Regions from separate parts of the Homo sapiens genome. Here all the other regions are linked to region 1. Evidence: promoter capture Hi-C in 16 types of primary human blood cells and fetal thymus (Javierre and others, 2016). All regions are on one chromosome and are shown on one strand. Each heading gives the region's core, a stretch centred on a gene start or on the middle of the fragment in contact. The rest is flanking DNA. Distances are from core to core; before and after follow the strand shown.

Region 1 (2,700 bases), core at 39-2,538:
GAATTTTCGGAGCATGTTTACTCTACACTGAATAATCGGAAAGCCATTTTTAATGCCACTGGACAATTTCACTATTTAAAAATTTACAGTGTTCCCCGAATGTGCAGGCAGCAGAGTATTTTGGCAACCAACACAGCGAGACCCATTTACCTTTACCTTAGACTCGTAAAGGCTGAGTTACTTCTAGGTATCATTTAGCAACGCAATAAATGTCTGCCTCGAACAGTGAAAATTTCCCAAAGGAGCAGAACAACTTTCATGGGTGGGGCAAAAGGCTGGGAAGGAAGAGAATTCGTTTTGGCTTGCTCCAGCGCTGGAAGAACACTGAGCACCACACTCTCCGCAAAGGCCTAACACAGCAAAGGCGACTGTCAAATCGATCCCTTTTGGGTCTGCTGTACCCGTCCTCTAGGGAATCAAAATAAGGCAAAATAATAAAAAGAGTACAGAGAAGTTTGGCGGCGGCGGGGCGTGGGGGCTTGAGGCATCTCAGAGAGGAGGGCAAAAATCAACAAGAAAATGCCCCCATTTTAAAAATCCTGTCTGCGACCTCGGATGGGAGATTTTGTTTATCCACGGGCAGTTTACTTCTGTCTCCCTGACCCATCTCCACAGGCTCTGGTGCTCGCCGCCACTTTCCGAGCAGATCATTACTCAGCACCGGAGCCGGCGCGCCTCCTCCCGCAGGCGGGAGCGGGGTCTCGGGGAGAGGCGGGAAGAGGCGCGACCGCCCGGGCGCCCAGGTGACCGCGGCCCTCCCCGCGCCCCCGTCCCCGCGCCCCCCGCACCAAGCATCCGGGAGACCCGGAGCCCCCGGGCCGAACCGCGCCGGCCCCCAGGCAGCTGAGGCACTGAAGGGCAGGCTCGGGCACGGGGGTCCTGAGGGTCGGGAGGAGGCCGCGGGGACCCTGTGCTGTCCCCGAGCGCCCCCAGCCCGCGCACGCCCACCTCCCAGCCCCTCTACCCAACTTCACCGCTGCCCCGCCAGCCGGTTCCGCACCGTCCGCCCTCGCCCCGACCCCCGGCCCGCCGCGCCCCCTCACGCCCCCGTTACCTTTCCGTTCTTGGGGCTGCCGTTCAGGAACAGGGTCACCCGCCTCATCGCGCTGCCCCCGCTGGGTCCTGAGTGAGCCGCCACCCTCCCACCTGGTCCTCCTCCCACCTTTTTCTCCTCCCGCCCTTCCCCTCCCTCCACCCACTCGGATTCGCCTCCCTTCGCCACCTTCCTGCCCTTGGGGACACACCACACGCACGCACTCTGTCCCACACCCAAGGTTCGGCCGGTCCTCCTTCCCACCCCGCCCCTAGGCTCCTCAGCCTGCCTGGGGCCCTTCCCCCACCTCTCCGAGACTGACACTCTGCCGTACCAACCAACCCGCGTCACCGGACAGAGTCCAGCCAATCAGCACCCAGTATCGGGCGGGCTCTGGCTAACCTAGCCGGGACGGAGGGAGGGAAGAGACGCTGAAGGCTAGTAGACGGGAAGGGGCATCAGCCAATCAGAGAGGCTCCTGGAGCCGGACGGCGGCTTCCAGCGTTACTGAGCAGGCGCACCCTCTAGTTTAGGTAGCGCTTATCTGCATACGAGGGCGGGGTCTGGGGAAAGGAGGTGGAGCGCTGAAAGGGACCCAAGCACCAGTCAGCCCCTCCTCCAGCGTTAGCCCCGCCCACAAGCCGGCCCAGCTAGGAAACGGCTGCGGTAGGGACGGACTGATTGGGTAAGAGCCAGCTCGTCGCTCTGTTAGGATTGGTTGAATGAGTCTTTTCGAAGTTTGCAGCATCCAATAGAAAGGTGGGAGGCGGAGTTAAAGCGCTAAGAGAAGCGTTACTCCGCGAGACTCTCCTGAAAAGTAGTCCCCGAGGTCACAAGGCAGTGGCAGGTGTCTGTAGTCCTCGGGTTGACTGCAGCTCGCGGTGGTCCCTCTCCGAGCCCAGGAAGCCACTCCAGTGCCGAGGGAGAGGCCTGGGAGCGCTCGGAGTGTGCGCGGACTGGAGAAGGGGGAGGTGGCGGAGTGATTCGTAGAGTAAATTCGGTACCGAGGGGCGGGGTCGGGGATTTGAATCGGTCGGCGGGCGGAGGAGGCGGGTGGAGGAGGCTGCCGGGCAGAGCGCAGGCCAGGATCAGCGCAGGCTGTGAGTCCAGGTCAGCCGTCGGGACCTCGGGCTCCGGGTTCGAAGAGCGGCTCCCGGCTGCGGGTGCTTTGCCAGGAGAGCCCTTCCGGACAGAGGAGCCGGGGTCTGGAAGGAGCGGCCGACGCGACGCTCGCCTGCCACGGGGCTCTGGGAGTAAGCCTGTCTGCCTGGCGGGCCTTCAGGTGCGGCGTGAGAGGTAGGATTGCATCCGCGCTGCCACGGGGCTGTTTCTCCGGGGCATTTCTAGGCACTTTGTTCGGCTTACCCTGCAGCACAGAATTAGTACTCCTGTCAGGAGCTGCTCTGGGTGACCAGGAGTGCATCCGGACCTGTTGAGAGAATTTCTGGAAATGGATAGAGCTGCGTCTTGAGAGGGGTACCCTTATGATTCAGGTTTTCGCTACGGTTGAAAAGCCATGGCTTATCCTTTGGGGTCTGCTTTGGTGCCTGAACAGCAGTTTTCTCCATTTCTTTCTGTTTAATTTGGCTTTAAAAGTACGCGCTTAGAGTAAAAGAATGGTTAGCACAGGGTGGGAAGTGTATTGGGGATGGATGGGAAGGAAGTGG
Region 2 (2,700 bases), core at 52-2,551, 5.3 Mb after region 1:
TTTTAGTAGAGACAGAGTCGCACCATGTTGCCCAGGCTGGTCTTAAACTCCTGAGCTCAAGTGATCCACCCGCCTTGGCATCCCAAAGTGCTGGGATTACAGGCGTGAGCCATCACGCCTGGATATACTTTTTAAAAAAAAATAAAAAATATTTTTCTAAAAATATAGAGACAGGGTCTCACTATGTTGCCCAGGCTGGTCTCAAACTCCTGGGCTCAAGCAATCCTCCTAACTCGGCCTCCCAAAGTGTTGAGATTACAGGTGTGAGCTACCATACGTGGCCTGTATATGCTTTTTATTTTATTTTTTAAATAAAAATTAAAAATACTTTATAAAAATAGAGACAAGGTCTCAGTATATTGCCCAGGCTGGTCTTGAACTCCTGAGATCAAGTGATTCTCCTGCCTCAGCCTCCCAAAGTGCTGAGATTATAGGCATGAGCCACCACGCTTGGCCTGTATATGCTTTTGGAAAACAGTTTAATGATCACTCACCAAAATCCACAGGAGAATCTTAAATGTTTACAAGCAGCAATTATTCCACTATTCCTGCCAGCACTGCATCCTTCATGGCAGAGTATCACAAGTACTTCATACTAAAAATTAGAATAATTTATGGGCTGGGTGTGGTGGCTCACGCCTGTAATCCCCACGCTTTGGGAGGCCGAAAAGAAAGATGATTGCTTGAGCCCAGGAGTTAGGGACCAGCCTGGGCAACACAGTGAGACCCTGAGACCCCATCTCTGTAAAAAAATAAAAAATAAAAAATTAGTTGGGTTTGGTGGTGCATGCCCGTAGTTCCAGCTATTCAGGAGGCTGAGGCGGAAGGATCTCTTGAGCCCAGGAGTTGAAGGCTACAATAAGCTCTGATCATACCACTGCACTCCAGCCTAGGTAACAGAGCCAGACCCTACCTCTAAAAATAAATAATAATAATAAACGTATGGCTTTCTATCTAGAGTGCCCTTTCATCTGGCCAAGCTGAGGATATGCTACTTCTCAACCCCCAAGTACCTGACAACATTACTGGGATAAATAGAATAAGCCATTTCTAAGAAAGGAGGACGCACAGCAGGGGTTTCCTAATGGTAAGAGCAGAGAAAGGAGGTCGAAACTCTGTGGGAAGAACAATGCTAGCCCCATAATGGGAATGATTTTCTCATCCAACCTGCCTTTTCCAGTTATTTGGCAGGCAACGTGCTTCCCCGTGCCTTCCACCCACACCTTTATACCCTGCAGTTCACCATTTAAGTTCACTAAGTGGCTTCAACTAGGACAGACTCCAAAAGCAATTTTCCCAAAGGTAGAGATGATTTGTCTGCTACATAAATACTGCTGGTCTTCCAGTCACCATTTCTGGCTTCCCAAGAATCATCAAAAGCAATCCAAGGGTGTCATAAAGCACTCAATGTTCTAAACTACTCTCACATACCATCAGTTTGTTCCTCATGTATATTTGAAGCTACTTTAAAGTTATTTAAGGCTTCTTTTTCTAATTTTAAAAATATGTTTTTTAAAAAAGTTTTTAAAAAATATGTTTAATTTTAAAACATATTCTTTTTTTGGAATATGTTTCTTCTAAGCGCCAAGGTGGGCTTTCACTGGTGCCTGGTGTCTATAACTCTGGTTTGTTTTTTTAGAAGTTTCTGCCTTTTTTGCTTCTACGTCGTCTTAGCTTGCAGGCATTCATTCAGAGGTACTGAGTAAGCACTCACTTGTGCCAGGCATTATGCAAGGTAAGGCACTAAACAGATACAGTCCCTGCTCTTGGGGACTGTATCAGTATCTTGGCCTACAGTGCCAGCCAGAGAGAGGCTCTGAGCCTGTCCAAGATACTGACTCAAGGGGCAGCAGCAGAATCTCCACATTCCCTAAAATTGAAGAGCACTGGGCCAGAAACCAGAGGAAGAGGATGGTGGAAAATTGTGGCCTTGTTGGGCCAGAGAAGCTGCGCCCCAGCACAACACACTTTGGGGCCTGGGGCACTGGTTGAAAGGAAGCCTATGACCCTGAAATACCACTGTCCTATTTTGCCAGCTCCTGTGAACAGGCCTCCAGGGATTTCCACTGCTTTTAGAGGCCTATTTACATGCCAGCAACATGACATGACTTCAGCGCCTCTGACTTGGAAGGAACGAAAAGCACATTTAGGCTGGGAGTGGCGGCTCATGCCTATAATCCCAGCACTTTGGGAGGCCAAGGCAGGTGGATCGCTTGAGGCCAGGAGTTCAAGATGAGCCTGGGCAACAAGGTGAAACACTGTCTCTAGAAAAAATACAAAAATTAGCCAGGTGTGATAGTGAAGCCTGTAGTCCCAGCTACTGGGGAGGCTGAGGCAGGAGAATCACTTGAGCTTGGGAGGTCAAGGCTACAGTGAGCCGAGATAGCACCACTGCACTCCAGCTTGGGCAACAGAATGAGACCCTATCTCAAAAAATACACATACACTTAGTTCCAGTGAGAGCTGGGGAGGCCAGGGGTGAAAAGCTGGCATGCTCTCGCTCACCCATCCCCTCTGCTGCTCCCTTCTCTTTCCCCCCAAATTTTTTTTTTTTCAATTTCTTACAAATTAGAGACGGAGGCTGGGCATGGTGGCTTATGCCTGTAATCCCAGCACTTCGGGAGGCCGAGGCGGGCAGATCACCTGAGGTCGGTAGTTCAAGACCAGCCTGACCAACATGGAGAAACCCTGTTTCTACTA
Region 3 (2,703 bases), core at 201-2,700, 5.3 Mb before region 1:
AGACCAGCCTGGCCAACAGGGAGAAACCCTGTCTCTACCAAAAATACAAAAATTAGCTGGGTGTGGTGGTGGGCACCTATAATCCCAGCTACTAAGGAGACTGAAGCATGACAATCGCTTGAACCCGGGAGGTGGAGGTTGCAGTGAGCTGAGATCATGCCACTGCACTCCAGCCTGGGCGACAGAGCAAGACTCTGACTGAAAAAAACAAACAAAAAAAACAAAAACAAAAGCAAAAAAAACCAATAATAAAATATATAAATAATTAATTAGCTTCCTCTCCCATCTTATGCTGAAAATGTTGTACTGATGATTTTATATTGGTATATGCCTTGCTACATAGAAACACATAGGTCTGTTTATTTAATCTGTTGTGGTTTGTCTTCATAGTATTTTCCTTGATTAGAATTTTCCAGCAAATAAAGAGAGATACACATTATCTGGAAAAAAATCAGTCACTGGCATGAGATTTTCTTACCCCTTTCTTCTCTATTTTTCTTCCCCAATAATCATTTGTAATAAAAGAATAAGAGTTTGCCTTTCTATCTAAGATGTTGATTTCTGGAAGCTTCTTTTTAAATTCTTGAGAAGCCGGCATGACATGAAATCTTCCCAACTCACAGATGGAGATTCAAAGACAGAAGGAGTTGAGGATTGGCCCAAGGTTACACTGTGCATAAGGAGACAGTCAGCACTGAAACTGGGCTGGTGATTCTGAGTCTCATGTTTTGACCACATTCCCTACTGCTGGGGAATTCCTGGGATTTTTGCATTCCTTGGAAGTAAAACAAGGATATGGTTTCAGCAAATAACAGGAGGACAATAGCCAGTATACAATATCTGTAGGATGACTCTTCCTTGGCGGGGGGCGGGGAACCCTCCGTATGGAAGAATAAGATTGGTGGACAACTGTTCATTTTTAAGAAAAAAGCAACACATTTTCATTTATCTAATAGATATTTACTAAGTACTATGTGTAAGTTACCTTGCTAGGTACTTTAGATAGAAGACAAGAAAATGATAAGATACAGTCGCTGCTTAATACAAACTACTCAACTAGTCCAGGAGCCATATCATTTCTTTCTTAGAAAAGAGCCTGACACAGCCAGGCATGGTGGCTCACACCTGTAATTCCAGCACTTTGGGAGGCTGAGGTGAGCGGATCGCGAGGTCAGGAGTTCAAGACCAGCCTGGCCAACATGGTGAAACCCCGTCTCTACTAAAAATACAAAAATTAGCTGGGTGGTGGCAGGCACCTGTAATCCCAGTTACTCGGCAGGCTGAGGCAGGAAAATCGCTTGAACCCAGGAGGCGCAGATGGCAGTGAGCCGAGATCATGCCATTGTACTCCACCCTGGCTGACAAGAGCAAGAATACGTCTAAAAAAAAAAAAAAAAAAAAGAAGAGCCTGACACATATTAATTAACACATAAATATTCTGTTAATCAATAAATCAAAGCATGTAATAATAATGTTAGCTAAGCCATATCTAGCCTTTGCTATTTGCCAAATACTTTGCATTATCTCTTTTAATACAATAATTTTATGAAGATAATATTATTCTCATTTTATAAACTAGAAAAGTGAGGATTAGAGAGAATAAATTTTGTTCAAAGTCATAGAACTAATCAACTCAGGACTTAAACTAAGTCTGTCTGACCTCAGAGTCCATGCCCCAAGCCCCTGATAGAAGAAAAACTTCAGCTGAATTAAATTTAAAGGTGTTTAATTGAGCAGTGAATGATTTGTGAATCAGGCAGCCCCCAGAATCACAGCAGATTCAGAGAGACTCCAGGGATGCCTCGTGGTCAGAACAAATTTATAGATAAAAAAGGGAAGTGACCTACAGAAATCAGAAGTGAAGCACAGATAGAGCTAGATTGGTTACAGCTCAGTGTTTGCCTTATTTGAACACAGTTTGAACACTCAGCAGTGTATGAGTAGCTGAAGTACCACTGCTGGGATGGGCCAAGACTCAGCTACTGTTACAGGCGCAAACTCCTAGTTAGGTTTTCAATTTTGTCTACCTATTAAGTTAGGTTGCAGTTCATCCACAAGGACTCAAATATAGAAGTACAGAGTCCTTCTCGGGCCATATTTAGTTTGTTTTAGCACCTCTTACCCTTAAAACTGTGCAAGCCCCCCCACCTCCAGCTGATACTCTCTCTGTGTGAGTATATGTGACTTTTGGATATTTAATACACATTTCAGAAGAGAAAAAGATTTTTCTCTCCAAATTGCAGCATCAATTATTGGCATCAATGCACAATTTCCTGCTTTTTACCAATGTACAAACATGTTCTACACTACTGCAACTGGTCTATATCTGTGCTAAGCTTTCACTCAATATTATTTGGTATAAAGAGTTCAAATACTTGAATTCCACCAGCTATATATCATATTCATGTCAGTATCTATTAAATATACACTACTGGTGCAGTTTACTATTATGGGATATTTAGGTTACTATTTCACTTTCACTCTGATGAATAGCATTGCCATAACAAGCTATAAACATTTATTCCTTTGGTTAATAATCATATCATTGAGATCATGGAATCAAATTATTGGATCAAAGTGCGTGAACAAGTTTATGATCCCTAACCTATACCAGGTTGCTTTGCAGAAGGTCTGGCCAATTTCCAAAGTCATCAGAAATGAGCTGGTGCGACACTTAGCCCCGAATCCTGCCAACACTTAAAA
Region 4 (2,700 bases), core at 130-2,629, 5.2 Mb after region 1:
CTTTACAGATAAATTAGGAATAAAAAGCCACAGGCACTGCCACTGCATGAACATGGATGCTTACTTTAAAAAGCATCACAGCACTACCCACCCACTTTGAGAAACACCCCCCTCTCCTTCTCTATCTGGTGTGGAAAACCCTGTACAAAAGATCATTTGTTTCAAAATATCTATCATTTTGTTGCATTCTTACAAGCAGAAACCCTAATGTCACCACTGCATCACAAATGCATTCCATTAGTCATAACCAGGAACAGTAAAAAATCCATCATAAATACTAGAAAAACATTTTAGAAGTACACATTCTATTAGCAAGGCATGAGATCAGATATTATAAAGTTCCCATGTGGCTGATCCACAAAGAGAGAGGTTAAGTAAAAGGGGAGAGGAGAACCAATCTCTGGCACCAGGTTGGTAATAATAATTTAAACAAAAGATTGCATTAGAACAACCACAAGTCAAATGTAACAACTGTCAGAGATCCAAAAGAACAGCTTCTAGATGGCAATACCATACTCCTTTGAGATTAGTGAAGTCTTTATTGAGTATCCTTTTTTGAGACTAAAATGAAACTTCATATGCAATTTTCCTTTAAAACTAACTTTGTTACAATCTTAATTAATTGGCACACTGAAGTCTACCATGTTTCCAAAAGTAACAATAACATTAAGAATGCCTTACAGTTGGGAAGCCCAGGTGGGCAGATCATGAGGTCAGGAAATCGAGACCATCCTGGCCAACATGGTGAAACCCCGTCTCTACCAAAAATACAAAAATTAGCTGGGCATAATGGCACGTGCCTGTAGTCTCAGCTACTTGGGAGAATCACTTGAACGAGAGAGTTGGAGGTTGCAGTGAGCCGAGATAGTGCCACTGCACTCCAGCCTGGCAACAGAGTGAGACTCCGTCTCAAAATTAAAAAAAAAAAAAAAAAGAATGCCTTATAGGTGCTTTTCCATTCACTGTTTCAATTATGAAATATTACCTACGTAGTTCATTCTCCCAAGGTGTTCAGCACATCTGTAATAAAAGTAACCAATATTTATTATCTGCTAAACACTATGGTAAATATTCATACGTAATCCCTCCCAAAAAATCCAACTTAAGAAGTATTACTGTCCCCTTTTAAATATAATAAAATTGAGGGTAGTAAGCAGCAGAGTATAGATTCAAATCCAGTGTAAACCCTGTAATAAACAGCCTTTACACAGATTATTCCATCTGAAACTGGCCATTTTGTCAAAGTACAGAAATCTGTGACTGCACATTTAATGCTTGTTTAAGTAAAATAATATTAAGCTTACCCCACGCAACTGTATAAACAACTGGGAAGACTATGAAAAAAGAGATGACAATGTGTTAAGGACAAACACCACACAAATGGCCAATTATGAATCACAAACAGTTGTGCTTATGAGACATGATGCTTATGTCTCTGGCATCTACTACTAACTCAATGTCAAGCTTAGTAAACACTCAATAAATATTTGTTGAATGAATGACTATAATACAGATATTTCTATGCATTCCTTTATGGCCCCAGAAACTAATGTACCAATTCATCTATAATTTTATTTTATTTATTTTATTTTATTTTATTTGAGATGGAGTCTCACTCTGTCGCCCAGGCTGGAGAGCAGTGGTGTGATCTCAACTCACTGCAACCTCTGCCATTCGGGTTCAAGCAATTCTCCTGCCTCAACCTCCTGAATAGCTGGGATTACAGGAGACTGCCACCGTGCCTGGCTAATTTTTGTACTTTAGTAGAGATGGGGTTTCACCATCTTGGCCAGGCTGGTCTTGAACTCCTGACCCTGTGATCCACCCAACTCAGCCTCTCAAAGTGCTGGGATTACAGGCATGGGCCACCGCTCCCAGCCTTCATCTATAATTTTAAAAAAGAAGTCTACATAGCATGTACCTGGTCTGCTGCTGTTGTTAACAGCCACTCCCATAATTAAAAACCTTCATTCTGTTGTGCTTAGACCATAACTCTAAATAATACACAGTAACTAAAAATACTCTGTCTCTAAAGAGCCAACCTGGAGATCACTTTGCCATTTACATTTTAGAGACTATTTTTTGAATGCAGGTAGTGTATTTACCTAAATGAGCCCTCTTCCAACTTGCAGAGCTAAAAGCCAATTATTTTCCTTCATAATTCCTCCTAAATCAAACCACCACATGGAAATAATCACTTCCAGAGTGCAAAAATTATATACGGAACAAGTAATGAAAGAAAAGGAAGAACAAGAAAAATTTATAAGATTTTATGCACACTTCCTGAAGGAAATATCAGGCTGGCAAACCTGGACTGTTTGTTTCCTAGGTTACTACCTTTCCCGACATTATCTTCCAGCCCTAGCACTGAAGTATTCACTGAAGGATCTGAAATTTTATAATGAAACACTAAAGAATCATCAATTTGTTAGTAACTCACAAATTCCTATATAGGAATTTAGCTTAAGAACAAAAAAATAAAGGAGAAGGGATGACAGTTGATACCCCAGACAGCTCTATTCAAGTTTATGAATGATTTACTCTTAAGGGTGGCAAGACTTAATGCAAATGAACATAGAGGAAACTGTCAGCTCCATTGTGGTTCAACCAATAGAAGCACAGCTCCATCTTGGCTGTGCACTAGACTGCATTACAAACAGACGATACCATCGCTTCAGCAGCATCCTCTCAGACAAGAGG
Region 5 (2,700 bases), core at 156-2,655, 5.2 Mb after region 1:
AATAAAGCCGTACAGTTTACAACAAACTAAATGCTTACAGTATTTGACCCTCGCAACTCTAGGAGCAAACAGGTATTAGTGTTATTCCTATTTTAATACGTGAAATCTGAAGTGAAGCTGTCTGGTTAAGGTCGCACAGATGGAAGAGCCAGGGCCAGGAACCAAACCTCCTGACTCCTAACTCAAGTGCTCCTTACACCAGACCTGGAACGCTGGTAAAGGCCTTTAAAACAAAGGCCACCTGTGAGGTTCGGGAACGTTCAAAGGCATCTAGAGCAGAAAGCTTCGCAATGTCTGTCTTTCACCATCACGTGCTCCGCCTAACTTTTCCTCCTTTTTCAAAGACTACCCAATATGTGTACTAAGTTTTAGATCTCTGGACCCCCCTATGGAGTAAACAGGCTACATCACCATGTCCATTTTACAATTAAACAAAACCACAACTCAAGGAGTTGGCTGGTTCCTCCGTGGGCAGACACGGAAAACCCAAAAATTAAACTGAAATCTGCCTCCAAGCCCACGATTCTTGCCACCATTCGACCTCTTTCAACCTTACTACTTCCCCTCTCTTTCACTTTTACCCAGCCTCGTTAGTGTCCCTGGCACCTCAGGACCCGGCTATGAAAAGCAGGCTGCTTCGCCCTTAAATGACGGAAGTGGGGAGGTGGGCGAAAAGGGGGCCGCAGCGTTGTTTAGACTGCAGAAATCAACTACTATCGTTAAAGTTTAGGGATCATCACAAACCAAATCTCCAAAAGGTAGCCTAGAAAGCAGTCCGCGTATGAGCATCATTTTAAATCACAGTCTTGAGCTGGCTGGACCCCGCGGCTGCTCAAACTCCACACACGGTTCGCTTGGCTACCGCGCCCGTGAACTTGGAGGCTTGGAAGAGGCACAGTCAGGCGGCAGACCGCGAATTTTCCCTCTTTCCAACCCAAAAGTTTGCTCAATGAACCTCTGGCCTAAAGACAATGCTCCGGGGAACGGTTCGCGTGCTGGGTGTTTCGCTTCGAGAACGGCGGTCCCAGCTTCCCGTGAGGTGGAGGTCACGCTCAGCCTCCCGGGAGGCGGCGGCGCGCCTGCGTCCCAGGGAACAGCAAGCCGGGGCTCTGCGCCCCACACCCGGCGGCCGCAGCCCCTACCTGAGTGAGAAGGGCAGCCTCGCACGACTCGCCGCCCCCTTCCTGCGCCTCCGCCTCGGCCGGCCGCCCACGCCGGCACTGCACCCTCTTCCTGCTTCTCGTCAGCGCCCCCGCCTGCCCGCACGCACGCCCAGCGCTGACCCGCCAGGTCGGGGTCTCACCACTGGCGGTGGCGGCGGCGGCGGCGGCAGCGGCGGTAGCTGAGGCGGCGACTGGACCCGGGACTCCGCCCGCCACTTCCCGATCGGGTGCTAGGAGCTCAGTCCCGGCAGCCACCGCGGCGCCAGGGCAGCCAAGCGAGCGCATGCGTCATTGCGTGCCCCGCCTCTGGTGCCGCGGGAGCGGAACTATCCCGCTCTGGCGTCCTGGGGCCTCCATGACAACGAGGGAAGGGCTGGGGTGGGGCCGAGAAGGGGACTGAAGTGGGAGGCGGCGCCACTGAAGATGGAAGGCAGCTTTCTTTATAGACACTTTATTAAAACTGCTACAGCCTGCTCCGGCGTGCGCTGGGATGTGGTGAACCCAGCCGACGACGCTATCTTTCAATGGTTACTTTGTGTTTTTTGTCTTTTTCTTATTAGAGACGTGATCTCACTCGGTCACCCAGGCTGGAGGGCAGTGGCGCGATCTCGGCTCACTGCAACCTCCGCTCCTGGGCTCAAGCCATTCTCCCACCTCAGCCTCCGGAGTAGCTGGGATCACAGGCGAGTGCCACCACGACGGACTATTTTTGGTTATTATTGTTGTTGTTGTTTGTATTAATAGGGTCTCACAATGTTGCCCAGGCTGGTCTCGAACTCCTGAATTCAAGCGATTTGCCCGCCTCGTCTTCCCAAAGTGCTGGGATTACAGGCGTGAGCCACCGCGCCCGGCCTCAACGGTTATTTTGTGAGTTTACCCCAGCGCCACACACCAGCACCTGCACACCGAGAACGCGGTTCCAGCTCTTTTACAAGCGAAGAACAGAGGGCCAGGAAGCTAATTAATAAATGACTTGCTCAAGACAACACAGCTAGCAAAGGCAGCCTGATGTGGAGCACAGCCCAGCCTCTTCCCTCCACCCCTGTGAACTGTCTTAGAAAAGGATTTTGGATTTAGAAGCCAGATAAATGGGTGGAAATAAAGCAGTGGAAAAAATAATTTCATTGCCCGAAACCTGCAGCGTGGCAGGCCTTCCCTCACTCTTATAACCTAAAGCGGCAGTACAGCCAGTGCTCAGCCATTCTGTGGCTGTCGTTGAATTACTGGTTACTCTTCAAGTTACTGAAACTGTGGCTCAGTTTTCTCATCGGGGAAATGGGGATAATCATTGTACTACTACAATGAGTTACTTGCATTGGACTGTGGTGAAAATTAAGTGAGAAAATACCTAAAATTTTATTCAAAACTTGGAAAAAAGTCAAAAGATAATATTTTGTGACTTTTATTAGTTTCATTCTAGAGAATTTTGTAATAAGCCTACTTGATCATCTGACACCCACAGGAAATGTAACTTTGTTTGAATAACAATTGATTAGGGCCCAGAAGATTTACAAAAGGATGAAATCAAACATCAATT

What was found. The method cuts DNA at HindIII sites, captures the fragments that hold promoters and counts their contacts. A CHiCAGO score of 5 or more calls a contact.
Region 2: a fragment that was not itself captured here is called in contact with the fragment with the promoter of KCTD9 in region 1 in 1 of 17 cell types (neutrophils); the score reaches 7.6 in neutrophils.
Region 3: a fragment that was not itself captured here is called in contact with the fragment with the promoter of KCTD9 in region 1 in 2 of 17 cell types (neutrophils and total CD4 T cells); the score reaches 6.3 in neutrophils.
Region 4: a fragment that was not itself captured here is called in contact with the fragment with the promoter of KCTD9 in region 1 in 1 of 17 cell types (naive CD8 T cells); the score reaches 5.8 in naive CD8 T cells.
Region 5: a contact is called between the fragment with the promoter of GTF2E2 here and the fragment with the promoter of KCTD9 in region 1, in 2 of 17 cell types (monocytes and total B cells). The highest score is 6.5, in monocytes.

The regions. Positions count from the first base shown.
Region 1 is chr8:25,457,145-25,459,844 of GRCh38, forward strand. KCTD9 (potassium channel tetramerization domain containing 9) reads right to left here and starts at 1,289. Exons shown (of 12, transcript NM_017634.4): 1 at 1,055-1,289. The coding sequence starts at 1,102. CDCA2 (cell division cycle associated 2) reads left to right here and starts at 2,089. Exons shown (of 15, transcript NM_152562.4): 1 at 2,089-2,329. RefSeq lists enhancers at 338-387, 1,758-1,987 and silencers at 998-1,047, 1,408-1,617. The HindIII fragment of the contact is 4,823 bases long and covers 1-2,700 here.
Region 2 is chr8:30,714,377-30,717,076 of GRCh38, forward strand. The region is part of intron 1 of GSR (glutathione-disulfide reductase); the gene reads right to left. Among named protein-coding and RNA genes, the nearest start is that of GSR, 12 kb to the right of the region's middle. The HindIII fragment of the contact is 3,607 bases long and covers 1-2,700 here.
Region 3 is chr8:20,191,419-20,194,121 of GRCh38, forward strand. No RefSeq gene overlaps it. Among named protein-coding and RNA genes, the nearest start is that of ATP6V1B2, 4.6 kb to the right of the region's middle. The HindIII fragment of the contact is 1,768 bases long and covers 567-2,334 here.
Region 4 is chr8:30,635,941-30,638,640 of GRCh38, forward strand. The region is part of intron 2 of GTF2E2 (general transcription factor IIE subunit 2); the gene reads right to left. It overlaps SMIM18 (small integral membrane protein 18), which reads left to right and starts at 2,640. Exons shown (of 3, transcript NM_001206847.2): 1 at 2,640-2,699. The HindIII fragment of the contact is 165 bases long and covers 1,298-1,462 here.
Region 5 is chr8:30,656,831-30,659,530 of GRCh38, forward strand. It overlaps GTF2E2 (general transcription factor IIE subunit 2), which reads right to left and starts at 1,406. Exons shown (of 8, transcript NM_002095.6): 1 at 1,143-1,406. RefSeq lists enhancers at 1-606, 1,278-1,949 and silencers at 991-1,080, 1,091-1,500. The HindIII fragment of the contact is 11,766 bases long and covers 282-2,700 here.